2 separate regions of the Homo sapiens genome follow, and region 1 is linked to region 2. Evidence: promoter capture Hi-C in human tissues and cell types (Jung and others, 2019). All regions are on one chromosome and are shown on one strand. Each heading gives the region's core, a stretch centred on a gene start or on the middle of the fragment in contact. The rest is flanking DNA. Distances are from core to core; before and after follow the strand shown. Region 1 overlaps MTNAP1 (mitochondrial nucleoid associated protein 1). Region 2 holds the start of SDK2 (sidekick cell adhesion molecule 2).

Region 1 (4,223 bases), core at 1,209-3,708, 400 kb after region 2:
ATTCAGAGATTTACACGCACATATTTTAAACACATAAAGGCTAACATCAAAGAACCTTAACTTGACTAGATTCAAATTAGTTACTCTTGTTTTGGGTGCTTGGTTAAAATCTTTAGTGGGAGGAGGCTAATACAACTGGTTAACTTGAGGTTTAGAGTTTTTCTGGCTTTGGGAGGAGGCACAATCAATGTGGGCAAGGGAAAGTTGGGGGTAGGTATTAAAAAATACAAGCTGTTGAATAAATGGTAGCTGTTATTAGCTTTGGTGCTTTCAATTATGTCCAACTCCAAAATGAACACAGACAAATGGAAAACTAGGAAGACAACACACATTTTAACATTTTTTTCCTCTCCTCTTTAGCCTTGCTTAACAGCCCGAAGAGAAACTTTTCCAAATGCCCAGAACCTGCAACAGAAGACAACAGTCAAACTCCAGCCTCACCTTTTTGTACAGCTCCCAAGAGCCTCATTAGAGAGAAGTTGGAGGTTGTAAGTCCGGCAGGGGGTTCCAAACTCCTTATATGAGTTGAGCTTCGTTCCAACAAAGAAACTATGGTTCCAAACAGAAGTCACTGTCATTGTTTACCGAAACGTACCCCCTTCCCTAACATCCAGTGCCGAAGGATCCACGGCTAAGCCTCAGGAAGAGCATATTCTAAACAGGTGCATTAAAGATTTCTGCATTGGACTGCAGCTAAGTGTTGAAAGTCAAATCAATTACAGGTTGAAAAAATGTTTTTCAAAAGGCCAAGGGACCCCTGAAAATCAGGGCGTCTACTTGTTTTTTGGTCTGCTGAGTACCCTGGCCAGGTGATTGATGCGCATGTGCTTCATGAAGTGAGTCTCTTACATCATCTTTTTGTTTTTGACACAGTCTCACTCTCTCGCCCAGGCTGGAGTGCAGTGGCATGATCTTGGCTCACTGCAACCTCTACCTCCTGGGTTCGAGTGATTCTCCTGCCTCAGCCTCCCGAGTAGCTGGGATTACAGGCACACGCCATCACGCCAGGCTAATTTTTGTTATTTAGTAGAGACGGGGTTTCGCCACTTTGGCCAGGCTGGTCTTGAACTCCTGACCTCATGTGTTCTGCCCGCCCCAGCCTCCCAAACTGCTGGGATTATAGGCATGAACCACTGCGCCTGGCCTCTTTTACATATTCTATCATCTGCTAAACATGTCAGCTAAAAGCGTGACTTTCTCCTTTTATGATTGTGACTTGCCCACAGTCAACATGCCTGTTCTATCACCCTATCGCTATTATTGGCCAGCAAACATTTCCTATTTATGTTCAGTGCATGAATAACTTAAGCAGAACCAGAAAAGAGGGCTTATGCAGGCCGGGCGCGGTGGCTCACGCCTGTAATCCCAGCACTTTGGGAGGCTGAGGTGGGTGGATCACGACGTCAGGAGATTGAGACCATCCTGGCTAACACTGTAAAACCCCGTCTCTACTAAAAAACAGAAAAAATTAGCCGGGCGTGGTGGCGGGCGCTTGTAGTCCCAGCTACACGGGAGACTGAGGCAGGAGAATGGCGTGAACCCAGGAGGCGGAGCTTGCAGTGAGCAGAGATCGCTACACTGCACTCCAGCCTGGGCAACAGAGCAAGACTCTGCCTCAAAAACAAAAAAAAGAGGGCTTATGCTCCTTAATCACATTTCTCCTGTACATGGTTTTCTCCATGTTTTATGACAGGTAATCTCTACTACTGATAGTTCTCTAGTCTTGGTTTGGTTCATCAAGATAAAGAAGAAATTAAACACCGACAACAGGTTTAGCAAGTGTGGTAAAAGTTGCTGTGGATGTAAAAATATCCAAATGATCATTAAAGAACAATGAAAAGAATCATGCTGGCTTCCAAGAAATTGCACAGAAGATAATTCTCTTGCAAGGTGAAGGTTAGTCTCTTAAAAAAAAAACCCATTCATCTTGGAAAAAATTTGAGGAAAACGGTGTAAAGAGACAACTTCCTGAAAATTGCAACCATGTTGTCAGCAGTGTCAGGATCACGTGGCTCCCTGACCTTGCCCTGCTTTCTCCAGTCAGGTGAGCCTACTGTCCTGACCTGCAGTTAATTCAGTAACTGTTAGCTCACTGGCCCTGCCTTTTAAGTACCAAAGGAATGAGTTGGCTTCCTGAGAAGGGCAAATGACCTATCAAAGGTCTTGCCTGAGTGAGAAAAGGTATAGCCCATTCTCTTGTGCAAAGATTCCAATAAAACTCTAATTTGCAGTCATTGGAGACAGTCATTGCCTGGTGAAATTACAAAGCTTTTTAAGGAGCCAATGGCACCATCTTTTAATCCCTATAGATTGATATGGCCTTGAAGTCCTTGGCCAATGGAGGGATCAGGGCTTGACCTGATCCTAGGGTCTCTCTCCTCTAGTATCTTGTGTTCATTTGGTGGTAACATCAAAGTCTGAACACTGATCCTGGATCCAACTTCAATAGTTTTTCAGTTTATAATAGAAGTAGAGGCCCTATGATGATTACACCTTATTTACTGTCTTGATGTAGAAGTCCCAAACTAAGTACAACATTTATTAGTTACAGACTATGAGCAATAAAAGGGATTAAAATAGTTTCTCACCACTATTTGGAAGGAACTTGTTACTGAAGAAAAAATTCTATTTTCCCTCCTATATCCTGTCTCATAACCTTGGTAATTTAATGTTTTAAGTTACTGTATCTTATTATTGTATTCTTAGGAGCTAACAGTGAAATGTATCAATAACATATCAAACAAGGTATTGACTTCTATCTGTGGTCTTTAAACTCTACTTGAGGCTTACTGTTTGGGAGAGTTAGTAGTTAATACCTCCAGGTTCACCTGACTCTTCTATCTGTGGTCTTTAAACTCAACTTGAGGTTCACTGTTTGGAATAGTTAGTAGAGTCAGACGAACCTGGGTTTGAATCCTGATTCTGTCACTTACTGCATGAACATAGGGAAGTCACTTAATGTCTGAAGCTCAGGCCAGGCCTGGTGGCTCACACCTGTAATCCCAGCACTTTGGGAGGCCAAGGCGGGAGGATCACCTGAGGTCAGGAGTTCGAGACCAGCCTGGCCAACATGGCAAAACCCCATCTCTACTTAAAAAAAAAAAAAATTAGCTGGGCGTGGTGGCAGGCACCTGTAATCCCAGCTACTCTGGAGCCTGAAGCAGGAGAATCGCTTGAACCTGGGAGGTGGAGGTTGCAGTGAGCCGTGATTGTGCCATTGCACTCCAGCCTGGGAGACAGAGCAAGACTCTGTCTCAAGAAAAAAAAAAAAAGATGTCTGAAGCTCAGATTCCTCAAGAGGAATAAGAGGGTGGGACAGTGGTGTCACTCAGAGCTGTTATGAGGATTAAATGACATAATGTATCTAGCATAACGATAGTCATAGTCATCACAGATAAACGTCAGGTCCCTCACTTTTTCCTCTAAAATGAAAAGTGTGTATCAAGGACACTCCTAAGCACTATAAAATGTAGTACAGAAAATACACAAGTCCTTCAATTTGGTAGAGAGATTTATCATGGGGGGAGTGTGTGCATCTGCAACTGAAAAACACAGAAGGCTGGACACGGTGGTTCACACCTGTAATCCCAGCACTTTGGGAGGTTGAGGCGGGCAGATCACCTGAGGTCACGAGTTCAAGACCAGCCTGACCAACACGGAGAAACCCCATCTCTACTAAAAATACAAAATTAGCCGGGCGTGGTGGCGCATACCTGTATCCCAGCTACTTGGGAGGCTGAGGCAGGAGAATCGCTTGAACCCAGGAGGCAGAGGTGAGCCAAGATCACACCACTGCACTCCAACCTGGGCAATGAGCAAAACTCTGTCTCAAAAAACAAACAAACAAAAAAACAAAACACACACACACACAGAAAAGTATGGCACTATAACAAACATGGTTTTAGTTATGGTGTATTTTCTACAACATGGTTTAGTGGAAAAGATTAAACTAGGCCTCAGGAAACTAGGTTCTCCTTGCAGCTCTACTATTTATTGGCAACACAAACTTGGACAAATCACTTATGCTCTCTGTGCCTGTTTCATCATCCACAAAATAGGATAAATTCACTCTGCCCACCTCTCTGTCCACCTTGTGCCCAAAATAAAAAAAATACAGATGGAGGCACTCTGAAAACCACAAAGCAACACAAATGTTAATATAATTAAATGTGTTTATTACGGAGAAGGGGCTTGACTTTGTGACTACAACTTTGTGCAAAAAG
Region 2 (4,317 bases), core at 188-2,687:
GCCTCCGGGCTCTCTTGTTTGAATTCCTCCACCAATGTCCGGTTCTTCTACTCTTTACAAGCTGGGCTCCGAAGGAAAAAAGAAGAAACAAAGAACGCACGCTCCTTGGCACCAACTTCACTTTCTCAGGCTTCTGCAGGTCCCAGGCCTCCCGATGTCTCCCCCTCCGCCCTGAGCATTTCCAGACCTTGGAGAGCCTGACTTGGGAAGGGGAAACTGGAATCAATCGGTTGACCGACCCCCTTTTCCCAACCGCCGCCTCCCCACCAATCACTCCATGTCCGGAAGGGGGCTGGGGGCTCCCGACTATAGGAGACTCTGGGAGTCCTATGAGGCCTTTGAGACAGGGGCGCGAGCGAGGCTGGAAGGAAAGGCTGGGCAGAGAGCGGAGGGGCTCGCGCGCATCTCTCCCGGCGCGGCAGAAGGTTGGCACTGCTGCCCCCCTGCGGGTCCCAGAGCCGCTGGGCGCCCGCGGCCGCGCAGTCGGATTGTATTTCTGCGGGGCTCGCTCCCGGGCCTGGCTCGGGGCCGCCGCCGCCGCCGCCGCCCCTCCCGGCGCGCAGGCTGCTCTCCAGTCGCGGCCACGGGGTAGCGCTCGGCCCCCCTCTCCGCGTCTCCGCCTCCGCCGCGCTCGTCCCCGGCTCACGCTGCCCCCGCAGCTCCGGCTCGGCGCAGGCAGGAGCGGCTCTCTGGACGCCGAGCCCGGGAAGCGGAGGGCGGCGGGCTCGGCGAGCGGCAGCGGCGGCCGAGGCGCTGGGGCGGCCGTTGCTCCTCCGGCCCGGGAGGTCGGCGATCGCCGGGCGTCCGAAGGGGCGCCGCGTCCCCGGAGCCGGGGCTGCCCGCCGGGCTCTCCGTGCGTCTTCCCGAGAGCTCCGGCCGGGGCGCGGCGGAGGGCAGAGCCGCCGGTCTCCATCCTCGGGCCGGCAGGAGGCTCTGCGCCCGGGCGCCGGCGACAGCCCGCGTCGCGAAGCCCAGCACCCTCCCCCGCCGCCCCGCGGCTGGCGCGGACATGGGCGCTCAGGGCTGCGCGCCCGGCTCCGGGACCCGCAAAGTTTGCTAGCCGGCTGGGCGCGGAGCCGAGGGCGCGCCCGGCCCCAGCGCCCCCGGAGGAGACCCGGCGTCTCCCGATTCGGCGCGAGGGCGGTGGAGCCCAGAGGGGGTGGTTCGGCCCCGCCAGATGCTGCCTGCAAAGTTAGAGAGAAGAAAACTTCAGCTCCAGGGAGATTCGGACCGCTATGCTCACCGCGTCCCCCGAAACCGGCGCCCCTAAAAGAACCCCCGCACCCGCGTCTGCCACTGCGCTCGGCTCTGGCCGGGTCCCGGGGGCCCGGCGCCTGGAACGGCGGTGACTGCGTCGGCCGGGAGAACCCAACCAGGGGGCGGGGAGGGGGCGGGCAACGTGGCCACGGGAGGAAGTTTCCTGAAGTTGTCCATTTATTCCGGAGCTCGGCCGGCGACCCGGCCGGATCGCAGAGGCCGCCCTGTTTGGGAGAAGTCGGAGTTGGGGTGCTAAGGGAGAGAGGCGCCCTAGTCCGAGAGGGCGGCCTGGCCTCTTTCTCCCTGCTCGCCCCTCGCCTTCCGGGCGCGCTGCCGGGCTCGGACTAGTACAGAAGAGGAGGAAGGGTTGGGGTAGCCAAGCGCTGCCCCTCCCGGGCATATTACACCCCGGGGCACGGAGCCGCGTAGACTGACTGTTTCCTGGGACTAAGCCACGGGGTATCGGACCCCACCAGGATTATAAAACAGGGCGGAGGGAAGGGAGACCCCGAGGACCCCTCTCCAGGCTGGTCACCATGTGGGGGCTTTTGATCTGGACACTGCTAGCTCTGCATCAGATCCGCGCGGCCAGAGCCCAAGGTAAGGAGGGACCCCCACGTGGGGACAGGGAGGGGGCTGGGAGAGTGGGCGGGGGAGGGGCGGCGGGAGCTGGCCGGCCTCACGGTGACCTCCTGGACACCCGGCTTAGCCGTGGCAGAGCCCTCTCCAGGGAGTTTCAAGACACCCCATCTCCCAAGTTTTGGGGCTCTTTTGGGGGTGGGGCAGTCTCTCCGAGACTTGTGGCTTCCGAATGGGGGAAGGTGGGGACGACCTGGGGAGGCAGAGAAGAGCCCAAGGTGAAGTGGGAGGGGCGCTCCCCTCCCCCCGTCTGCTGTGGCTGCCCTGCGCCGGCTTGGGAGGGGAGCGACATTCCGTGCCGGGCTCCACGCTCGGCTACGCTGAGCTTCCCAGACCGAGCTCCTGGTTCCCTGCTCGGTGTCTGCGGGGAAGGGCAGGGCCCCTGCCGGGCAGGCGATGGCCTCCCCGGGGCGAGGGAGTGGGGTGGGCGAGCGCTGGATGCCGGGTTGCTCGCCCGGGGAGAGCAATTGCCCGGCTTGGCCACGTACGGGAGCCCGCCCCTGGCTGCTCGGCCAGCCGCTGGGGCTGGGGGTGCTTCGCTGCGCGGGCCTGGAGCCAAGGTCGCGGGTGCAGCCGCGGACCCACCGGGGGGTGGTGCACAGGGAGGGTCTGAGGCCTCCCCTCCTACCCATCCACCCACACCCAGCATCCCCGCCCCTGCCTCCAGCCTCCGCTGTTCGCTCGATAGTCTGTGCAGCCGCTCGCTGCTGTGACCTGTGGCTGCCGGGAGCAGCCTCGCGGTGGAGAAGGGCTGGTGGCTTTGGGTTTGGGAGTGCTACGAAGGATCCGAGGTGTGATCTGCGCTGCCCGCTTCCTGAGGGTGGATGCCCAGACGTCCCCCTGGTCCCCGGGCAGGTCCCCGAGGTGAAGGGCGGCTGCACCGGCGGTTCCTCGACTTTGGGGTTCGCCGATCCAGACAGTGGTGTCAGCGGTGTCCGAGCGGCGCCTGCTGGGGGCGGAGGGAGACGAAGCCTGGACCGAGCTCCAGGACTCGCAGGGCTAGGCCTTCACTCTCGCAGGCTCAGGAGGGGGCCAGACCCACCCTAGGGGTCCGGACTGTGGGGGCTGCAACCCACTCCCCACGCCGCCTCGTGCGCCAGGCAATCCAGAGAGCCAAGATCAAAGAGATGAAAATAATCAGCTCTCACTCACAGGGCTGAGGGGAGGATTTTACGAGGTAATTTACATAAAAGCACTTCGAAATTTTGTAACGAGCCCTATAAATGTAGGGTAATAAAAGTTATTATTTTTATGATCATCATAAAATCTTTGAACAAGCGAGGACCTCAGAGGTCATCTTATTCTAGTAGCCATTTAACAGATAGGGAAACTGAGGCCAAATGGCATTAAATGACTTGCCCAAGGCCACTCTGTGATCTGGGGGCAGAGGCAGGTCTGGAACCAGATGAGTTCTGAGCCTCTCTCCCTCAAACCAGGACTAGCTGCATGGGGTCTCCTTGGTCTGGGCCCCCTCTCTGAGGGGTCCCAGGAGGACCCTGATGCTGGCAGAATAGGAATGGGTTGTCCTTCATCCTGGAGCAGCCTCACAGTTGTGCTCTGGGACAACCAGTGTTACTAGCCAAAAGCCTGGACGGCGTGGAGGGACGGGATGCCAGCATCTGTCTGGACCCTTCTAACTTCATTGCTCTACAGACTTTTCAACAATGGTATGATTTCCCTGGGCAGGTGGCTCACCAATTCTTGTCTCATCTAGGACCAGGCCCTTATAGAGTCCCCAGGGCACCTGATGGCCCTTGCTTTGGGGTCTTCATGTGTCCCTTCCTGCCCCACGTCCACACCTGTGCCATCCACTTGAGGCCAAGATCCCACCCCTCCTGCTGAAGTTAAGGCCAGGTGGCCCCCTGTCCCTGCGCCTCCTGCGGGAGGGGCTTCCCTGTCAGAAGCAGAGAAAGTCTCTGTGATTGATTCACTTCCTCTCTGCCTTTCTTGTTTGCTGGCTTTTTGCGTGTCAGGCTGCCCAGGTCCCCTGCTGCTCCGCTCGTGTTCTCTGGCTCCGAGAGTGTTTTCCAGCATCGAGCCCTCTCCTGCTGTGTGTGTCCCTGGAGGCAAGCCTTGCAAAGGATTGTGGGAACGTGGTCCTAGGCTTGGCAGTGCTGGGTTTGAGTGTTGGAGGGGGTGGGATTAGGGCATGAGGTCCTTTCTTATCTGCTTTGGGGTTAGAGAGTGAGTTTTTTCCAGTCTCAGGCCATGACATTAATCCTTTGGGGGGTAGCTGAAGCCACTAGCACTGTCATTTCTGAGCCCACAAGCCTGCTTCTCCAGGCATGGCACAGAACGAGGGACGAAACAATTGTTCCTCCCTTGAGACAAACTTCACATCGACCACTGTCACCAGATTTTATCTGAGCCTAGCCTGGTTGGTTTTTTTTGGGGATGGGGGGTGGGTGCTGGACCTGAGCG

What was found. Contacts are between HindIII fragments. The study calls those that stand out against the background at their distance.
Region 1: a contact is called between a fragment that was not itself captured here and the fragment with the promoter of SDK2 in region 2, in 2 of the 25 tissues and cell types used here (hippocampus and thymus).

The regions. Positions count from the first base shown.
Region 1 is chr17:73,238,570-73,242,792 of GRCh38, reverse strand. It overlaps MTNAP1 (mitochondrial nucleoid associated protein 1), which reads right to left. Exons shown (of 6, transcript NM_001351264.2): 4 at 442-549. It also overlaps a transcript of CPSF4L not described here. Among named protein-coding and RNA genes, the nearest start is that of MTNAP1, 8.2 kb to the right of the region's middle. The HindIII fragment of the contact is 5,599 bases long and covers 1-4,223 here.
Region 2 is chr17:73,641,565-73,645,881 of GRCh38, reverse strand. SDK2 (sidekick cell adhesion molecule 2) reads left to right here and starts at 1,437. Exons shown (of 45, transcript NM_001144952.2): 1 at 1,437-1,857. The coding sequence starts at 1,794. LOC124904054 (a long non-coding RNA gene) reads right to left here and starts at 408. Exons shown (of 2, transcript XR_007065893.1): 1 at 188-408; 2 at 1-61. The HindIII fragment of the contact is 11,047 bases long and covers 1-4,317 here.